Linked DNA regions of Homo sapiens: region 2 is linked to region 1. The links are contacts of gene promoters, found by promoter capture Hi-C in blood cells and fetal thymus (Javierre and others, 2016). All regions are on one chromosome and are shown on one strand. Each heading gives the region's core, a stretch centred on a gene start or on the middle of the fragment in contact. The rest is flanking DNA. Distances are from core to core; before and after follow the strand shown.

Evidence for each region. Contacts are between HindIII fragments. The CHiCAGO score rates a contact against its expected background, and 5 or more counts as called.
Region 2: a contact is called between a fragment that was not itself captured here and the fragment with the promoter of BUB1B-PAK6 in region 1, in 1 of 17 cell types (erythroblasts). The highest score is 6.1, in erythroblasts.

The regions. Positions count from the first base shown.
Region 1 is chr15:40,215,181-40,219,263 of GRCh38, forward strand. It overlaps BUB1B-PAK6 (BUB1B-PAK6 readthrough), which reads left to right and starts at 2,248. Exons shown (of 10, transcript NM_001128629.3): 1 at 2,248-2,487. BUB1B (BUB1 mitotic checkpoint serine/threonine kinase B) reads left to right here. Exons shown (of 23, transcript NM_001211.6): 21 at 2,316-2,487; 22 at 3,276-3,382. The region is part of intron 1 of LOC107984763 (a long non-coding RNA gene); the gene reads right to left. The HindIII fragment of the contact is 293 bases long and covers 2,059-2,351 here.
Region 2 is chr15:41,357,131-41,361,032 of GRCh38, forward strand. NUSAP1 (nucleolar and spindle associated protein 1) reads left to right here. Exons shown (of 11, transcript NM_016359.5): 6 at 1,019-1,128. Among named protein-coding and RNA genes, the nearest start is that of NUSAP1, 26 kb to the left of the region's middle. The HindIII fragment of the contact is 1,388 bases long and covers 1,028-2,415 here.

The DNA.
Region 1 (4,083 bases), core at 998-3,497:
AGAAAGGGGCCGAGCACAGTGGCTCATGCCTATAATCAATCCCAGCACTTTTGGAGGCTGAGGCGGGCAGATCACCTGAGGTTGGGAGTTCAAGACCAGCCTGACCAACATGGAGAAACCCCATCCTACTAAAAATACAAAATTAGCCAGGTATGGTGGTGCATGCCTGTAATCCCAGCTACTTGGGAGGCTGAGGAAGGAGAATTGCTTGAACTCAGGAGGCAGAGGTTGTGGTGAACTGAGATCGCACCATTGTACTCCAGTCTGGGCAACAAGAGCAAAATTCTGTCTCAAAAAAAAAGCCAGAGGCCGGGCGCAGTAGCTCACGCCTGTAATCCCAGCATTTTGGGAGGCCGAGGCGGGCGGATCACGAGGTCAGGAGATCAAGACCATCCTGGCTAACACAGTGAAACCCTGTCTCTACTAAAAATACAACAAGATAGCCAGCCGTGGTGGCAGGTGCCTGTAGTCCCAGCTACTCAGGAGGCTGAGGCAGGAGAATGGCGTGAACCCGGGAGGCAGAGCTTGCAGTGAGCCAAGATCATGCCACTGCACTCCAGCCTGGGTGACAGAGCGAGACTCCATCTCAAAACAAAACAACAACAAAAGCCAGAAAGGGCTGGATGCAGTGGTTCACATCTGCAATCCCAGCACTTTGGGAGGCAGAGGCAGGAGGATCTCTTGAGGCCAGGAGTTCAAGACCAGCCTGGTCAACATAGCAAGACCCTGTCTCTACAAAAATAAAATAAAAGCCAGAAAGAACCTTTTGAAATTGCTTAGTTTAGTTGCTTACTTTAGTTTCTGCATATTTTTTGTGAGGAAAATGAGATCCAAAAAAATGGAATGTCCTACCCAAAGTAACAGTGAGTGAGTAGCTGATTAGAGGGCTAGGACACCTTCATGCATGCTTCTTTTTATTAATCTATGAGACATTTTTTCCCTATGCCTCCAAAGTTATATAAATATTTTACAATTACACTGGGCATGGTGACTCACATCTGTAATCCCAGCACTTTGGGAGACCAAGGCAGAGGATCACTTGAGCCTAGGAGTTCAAGACCAGTCTGGGCAATATAATGAGACCTCATCTCTACAAAAAATTAAGAAATTAGCCAGGCATGGTGGCACACACCAGTAGTCCCAGCTACTCGGGAGGCTGAGATGGGAGGATCGCTTGAACCTAGGAGGCAGAGACTGCACTGAGCTGAGATCGCACCACTGTACTCCAGCCTCAGTGACAAGAGTGTAGACCTTGTCTAAGAAACCAAACAAAACACACACATGCACACACTTTACATATATATATAAAATACATATGTATATTTTATATATATCAGAATCCACGATCCCTATAACTATATATATACTATATATATATATATATATATATATTTTTTTTTTTTTTTAATTATAGTATAGTTTTATGGTGGCCAAAAAAGGTTGGCTCTTGTGCCAAGGAAAAATGAGAGCAATTATCAATTTTAAAGTAAAATACATAGATCATTCTGTGCCGTGGAGGTATGTAATTGGAGTAGTTAAAGACTGTATTTAGGAATATTGCACCAATATCAGGAGTTTGAGGGAATTAATTGAGAAAAACAGACAAAAGGAACACATGAAAACCCACTCTTTTCATTTATAAACAGTTCCTATGTCCCCTTGGAGAATAGCATTATTGCATAGGATAGATAAACCCAAGGAAAACAAAATTAATTGATAATTAATTAGTATTATAAAGATTTTTTTAGTAAATAACTGGAATTACAAGTAAGAGTAAGATAAAATATGGTGTTTTACAAGAAATTTTACAATACAGATAGGACTTTATAAAACAGACTTGCATTGTTTTCCATTAAACTCTGGAAGGAAGAATCTAAACAATACTTGGAAAGCCTATCTGGAATAGTAAACAAGAAAGGCTATGACACCTATAAAATTTTAATTTCCTCCATCATAATTCCTGTCAGTGTATAAATCATTGCAATTGTATGTGTTAATGTGTACAGTACAGGGAAGAAGCCTGTGCTCTGCTTCCATACTTACTTTATATAATATGGAAGCTTGATAAATGTTTAATGGTGGCCATGCACCGTGATTGAAATATACTTTGTGTCACCAAAGTGGTGACATTCCTTCCGCATTGGGTGGACACTGCCACTGCTCTGTCTTACAGGTGCATTTTCAAAATTAACCACTGGAGGGAGTTGTTGGCATAGCTAAGATGTACCCAAGGTACCTTTTTTTTTTAAAGACCAGCTATGCAGCTTCTTTCATGGCCTATTTTTATTATCTCCTTCTCTTAAATCTGGGCTCAGAATCCACGATCCCTATGATTGTAACAAGAACAATCAAGCTTTGAAGATAGTGGACTTTTCCTACAGTGTTGACCTTAGGGTGCAGCTGGATGTTTTTACCCTCAGCGGCTTTCGGACTGTACAGATCCTGGAAGGACAAAAGATCCTGGCTAACTGTTCTTCTCCCTACCAGGTAAGTGTAAAACAAGCCTGAGCAAATATGGAGAGGGTTTCTTAATCTCTTTATTATCTAGATAAGCTATAAAAGCTACTGTTTACTGATACCGACTCCTAGAATAGATGACCTAGTTTTCAAATATCACCAAGTCAAGTAAAATGTAACATTTTTGTGTTACAGCATTGAAGAATATACACATACATGTGCAAACACATGACTAACTCTGTAACCGAGTGCCAGGGCCACTCCTACTGCCTACCACCCATGTAATCTTTTATAAGTCATTTTCTGTGATCTTCTCTGTAAAATAGGGATAACAGTCTCTGCTATGTGTTTATCAGAATTGTTATGAGGAGTAAATGAAGTAATGTATATAAAAAGAACATTAGCACAAATGTAAAGTCTTTTGTATGGTGGCATTATATGCAGAAATTCCTTCTAACTCAGCTTTAGACATAAGACATTTGCTGATTGAATATGTAGCACAAACCTGAACTAATCATGTGGACCCCATTTAGATCACAGCTGGAGTTCATGCAAACTCAGTAGGTCTACAAATTTGAATGTGATAGTCCAAATATTTCATCTTTTGTTCTTAAGGATAATTCCTAGAATTGGCTCTATTGATCACTTCTTTGGAGAGCTTCTCCCTTTACTGTAAGGGTGAGGAACAGTCTACTAAAATGTATGTCATAAAATAAACTTAGTTAAGCACTGTAATACCTTTCAACTTCCTACCGAAATAAGCTGCCATGGTAGAGGCAGAGAATTATTTTAGCTGATGGTGCTTTTTGTGATTTCAGGTAGACCTGTTTGGTATAGCAGATTTAGCACATTTACTATTGTTCAAGGAACACCTACAGGTCTTCTGGGATGGGTCCTTCTGGAAACTTAGCCAAAATATTTCTGAGTAAGTATTGATGAATGTCAGGGTCTCTGCCTGTCCCAATAATTTTCTGTTTCTCTTGGGTGCTATCTCTGCTTTGGCAGCCTTAGTTTTTTAATCCAAATGCCATGGTTCCAGTAGTTTCAGCCAGTTTTCATTAGAGTATCAGCAGAGCAGCTAGTGCAGGAAAAAGGAACTGCTTACTAAAAATAAGATTCAAAACTATTCAGACTTCAGGACATCATTCTGAATCTAGCTGTATCTTCCAGACTACAGCTATAGTATGGAAGCTTCCCTGTTTAGATATGTGAAAAGAAGCATTTCATGAGAATAATTTTCTAACTAATTGGTGTTAGCCTTAAATTCCTTTTTCTTTATTTATTTATTTTTTGAGACGGAGTCTCGCTCTGTTGCCCAGGCTGGAGTGCAGTGGCATGATCTCGGCTCACTGCAACCTCTGCCTCCCAGGTTCAAGTGATTCTCCTGCTTCAGCCTCCTGAGTAGCTGGGATTACAGGCGTGCGCCACCATGCCTGGCTCATTTTTGTATTTTTAGTAGAGATGCGGTTTCACTACGTTGGCCAGGCTGATCTCGAACTCCTGACCTTGTGATCCGCCCGCCTCGGCCTCCCAAAGTGCTAGGATTACAGGTGTGAGCCACCGTGTCTGGCCTAAATTCCTTTTTAATAGCAATTATTACCAAAAGTTAATAAGCATCCTTTGAAA
Region 2 (3,902 bases), core at 472-2,971, 1.1 Mb after region 1:
GCCCAGGGGGCTGGATCACCTGAAGTTGGGAGTTTGAGAACAGCCTGGCCAGCATGGTGAAACCCCATCTCTACTGAAAATACAAACATTAGCCAGGTGTGGCGGCAGGTGCCTTTAACCCCAGCTACTTGGGAAGCTGAGGCAGGAAAATCGCTTGAACCTGTGAGGCAGAGGTTGCAGTGAGCCAAGATCATGCCATTGCACTGTAGCCTGGGCAATAGAGCAAGACTCCGTCTCAAAATAAATAAATAAATAACATAAAAACAAGAAGAATATGAGACAGAGACCATACCATATGTGGCCATAAAGCCTAAAATACTTTTTTTTTTTGAGACGAAGTTTTGCTCTTGTTGCCCAGGCTGGAGTGCAATGGCGCAATCTAGGCTCACTGCAACCTCCACCTCCCGGGTTCAAGCGATTCTCCTGCCTCAGTGTCCCGAGTAGCTGGGATTACAGGCGTGCGCCACCACACCTGGCTAATTTTTGTATTTTTAGTAGAGATGGGGTTTCTCCATGTTGGTCAGGCTGGTCTCGAACTCCTGACCTCAGGTGATCTGACCGCTTTGGCTTCCCAAAGTGCTGAGATTACAGGTGTTGAGCCACCATGACCAGCCAAGTCTTAAATACTTTTATCTAGCCCTTTATAGAATAAATTTGTCAGTCCTTGACATACAGCATTATAAAATATCAAATTCATTATTAAATAAAGACCACTTGTGACTAATTGGTAGGGGAGAAGATAAATCTTCTACTCTAATCCTCTGGATTAAACCAAGATGTCAATTTAGTGAAATTTGTCAGTGGGGAGATGGTGAATGTTTGATAGTTTATAAGATGAATGTGCTTTGCCCCTGAGTTTCCAAAAACTAAGTATTTTGAAATTAATGTTTTAGCAAAAATTATATTGAAGTTGAATGTCAGGGATGCAAAGAAGAGAATAAGTGTTAACAGAAAAACACAGAGAAGATAAATAAATGGATTTTGTTTTGTTATTAATTTTTATATTGGAACATTCTAGACTTTAAGAAGCTTCATGAAGCTCATTTTAAGGAAATGGAGTCCATTGATCAATATATTGAGAGAAAAAAGAAACATTTTGAAGAACACAATTCCATGAATGAACTGAAGGTATGTAGATAAAATTATGTTCTTAATGGAACTAAACTGTTTGATTATAATTTTGAAACTATATAACACCGTGGTTACAACAACTGGCTGTCACTCTACCAGTAGATTTGTTTGAATTTAATATATCTTTATCTAAAACTTGCTTTCCCCTACCCTGAGAATTTTCAAAGTCCTCTAGATAAAACAGTGAATCCATGGCCAAGCGCAGTGGCTCATGCCTGTAATCCCCGCACTTTGGGAGGCCAAGGCAAGTGGATTACCTCAGGTCAGGAGTTCAAGGCCAGCCTGGGCAACATGGTGAAACCCTGTCTCTACAAAAAATACAGAAAATTAGTAGGGGGTGGCACATGGCTGTAATCCCATCTACTCAGGAGGCTGAGGCAGGAGAATCACTTGAACCAGGAGGCCAACATTGCAGTGAGCTGAGATCGCGCCACTGCACTCCAGCCTGGGTGACAGAGTGAGACTCCGTCTCAAAAAAAAAGAAAACAGTGAATCCTGACTATGAGAAACTATTTCCAAAATGGCAATGTCATTCTACTTTCCATATTCAGATGTTTTGCCTATTACTTTCATTGATGATGAACCAACTTATGGCTGAAGCCATCTTCTTTCCCTCGTCCCTTATGTAAAGGAAAATGGGTGATTAATAGTGGCAAACCTGAAGGGTTCCTGTGGTAACAGCTCCCTCGAGGGCTTTCAGTCCAGGTTCCACAGGACTCAAAGCCTCCTCAAGTAAGAGAAGGTGATAAAGTCAACTCTGAGGCTGAGTTAGCAAAGTAGTGAGTAACATTCTAGCAAGTTGATGTTATTGGTATCTGGTGTTAAGGCAGTGCCGAATGGAGGGCAGGAAACACATTTTTAAATATTTATGGATTTATGTATTTTTCTCATAAAGACAGGGTCTCCCTATGATTCCCAGGCTCTCCTTGAACGCCTAGGCTCAAGTGATCCTCCCACCTCAGCCTCCCAAAGTGCTGGGATTACAGGTGTGAGCCACCAGATTATATTTATTTCTATTCGCTGTATTTAATTCTTAACCCCATGTTTATTTTACATAACTTCCCTATTTCTCAAAAAGAATTTAAGGCCTATTCTCAAAATAATGTAAGTTTATGGTATTAAATATAAAATAGTATAGTCAATTTAAAAGCGGCAGAAAATTAGCACTGTTAGTAGGTACAGTATTTACTACCATCAGTCACTCAGCTGAGTTTAAGTTTTCTGGCAGCTAGGGCCAAGAGGAAAACTCACTGGGTGATAAATTGTAAATAATTTAAGTACTTAAGCTTCTTGGTGAGAAGCTTAATTGAAATAATAAACATTCATTTTAACGATGTAAAACCACTGTTACAACCATTTTTTTTCTTTTCTTTTCTTTTTTTTTTTTGAGACAGAGTTTCGCTCTTGTTGCCCAGACTGGAGGGCAATGGTACAGTCTCAGCTCACTGCAACCTCTGCCTCCCTGATTCAAGTGATTTTCCTGCCTTTAGCCTCCCCAGTAGCTGAGATTACAGGCGCCCACCACCACACCCAGCTAATTTTTTTATTTTTAGTAGAGACGGGTTTTCACCATGTTGGCCAGGCTGGTCTTGAACTCCTGACCTCAGGTGATCAACCCACCTCCCAAAGTGCTGGTATTACATGCATGAGCCATTGCTCCCATCCTCACTGTTACCACATTTGAAGGCACTGTTTGTCAAACTTTTTTTTTTTTTGAGACTCAGTCTCACTCTGTCACCCAGGCTGGAGTGCAATGGTGCGATCTTGCCTCACTGGAACCTCTGCTTCCCGGATGCAGCAGATTATTTTGCCTCAGCCTCCCAAGTAGTTGGGATTACAGGTGCCCACCACCACACCCAGCTAATATTTGTATTTGTAATTTTATTTATTTTTTTTAGATGGAGTCACATTGTGTTGCCCAGGCTGGAGTGCAGTGACACAATATTGGCTCATTGCAACCTCCACCTCCTGGATTCAAGTGATTCTCCCACCTCAGCCTCCCAAGTACCTGGGATTACAGGCAACCACCACCACACCCGGCTAATTTTTGTTTGTTTGTTTGTTTGTTTGTTTTGACACAGTTTCACTCTTCTTGCCCAGACTGGAGTGCAATGGCGTGATCTTGGCTCACCACAACTTCCACCTCCCAGGTTCAAGCAATTCTCCTGCCTCAGCCTCCTGAGTAGCTGGGATTATAGGTGCCTGCCACCACGCCTGGCTAATTTTTTGTATTTTTAGTAGAGACGGGGTTTCACTATGTTGGCCAGGCTAGTCTTGAACTCCTGACCTTGTGATCCACCTGCCTCAGCCTCCCAAAGTGCTGGGATCACAGGCATAAGCCACGGCGCCCAGCCCCTGCTAATTTTTATATTTTCAGTAAAGATGGGGTTTCACCATGTTGGCCAGGCTGGTCTCGATCTCCTGACTTCAGGTGATCCACCCACCTCAGCCTCCCAAAGTGCTGGGATTACAGGCGTGAGCCACCACTCCTGTCCTCACTGTTACCACATTTGAAGGCACTGTTTATCCATCTTTTTTTTTTTTTTTTTTTTGCGATGAGTCTCACTGTGTCACTCAGGCTGGAGTGCAGTGGTGCGATCTTGGCTCACTGCAACCTGCACCTCCCGGGTTCGACAGATCTTGCCAGCATGGCAAAACCCTGTCTCTACTAAAAATACAAAAATTACCTGGCCATGGTGGTGGGTGCCTGTACTCCCAGCTACTCAGGAAGCTGAGACAGGAGAATCGCTTGAACCCAGGAGGTGGAGGTT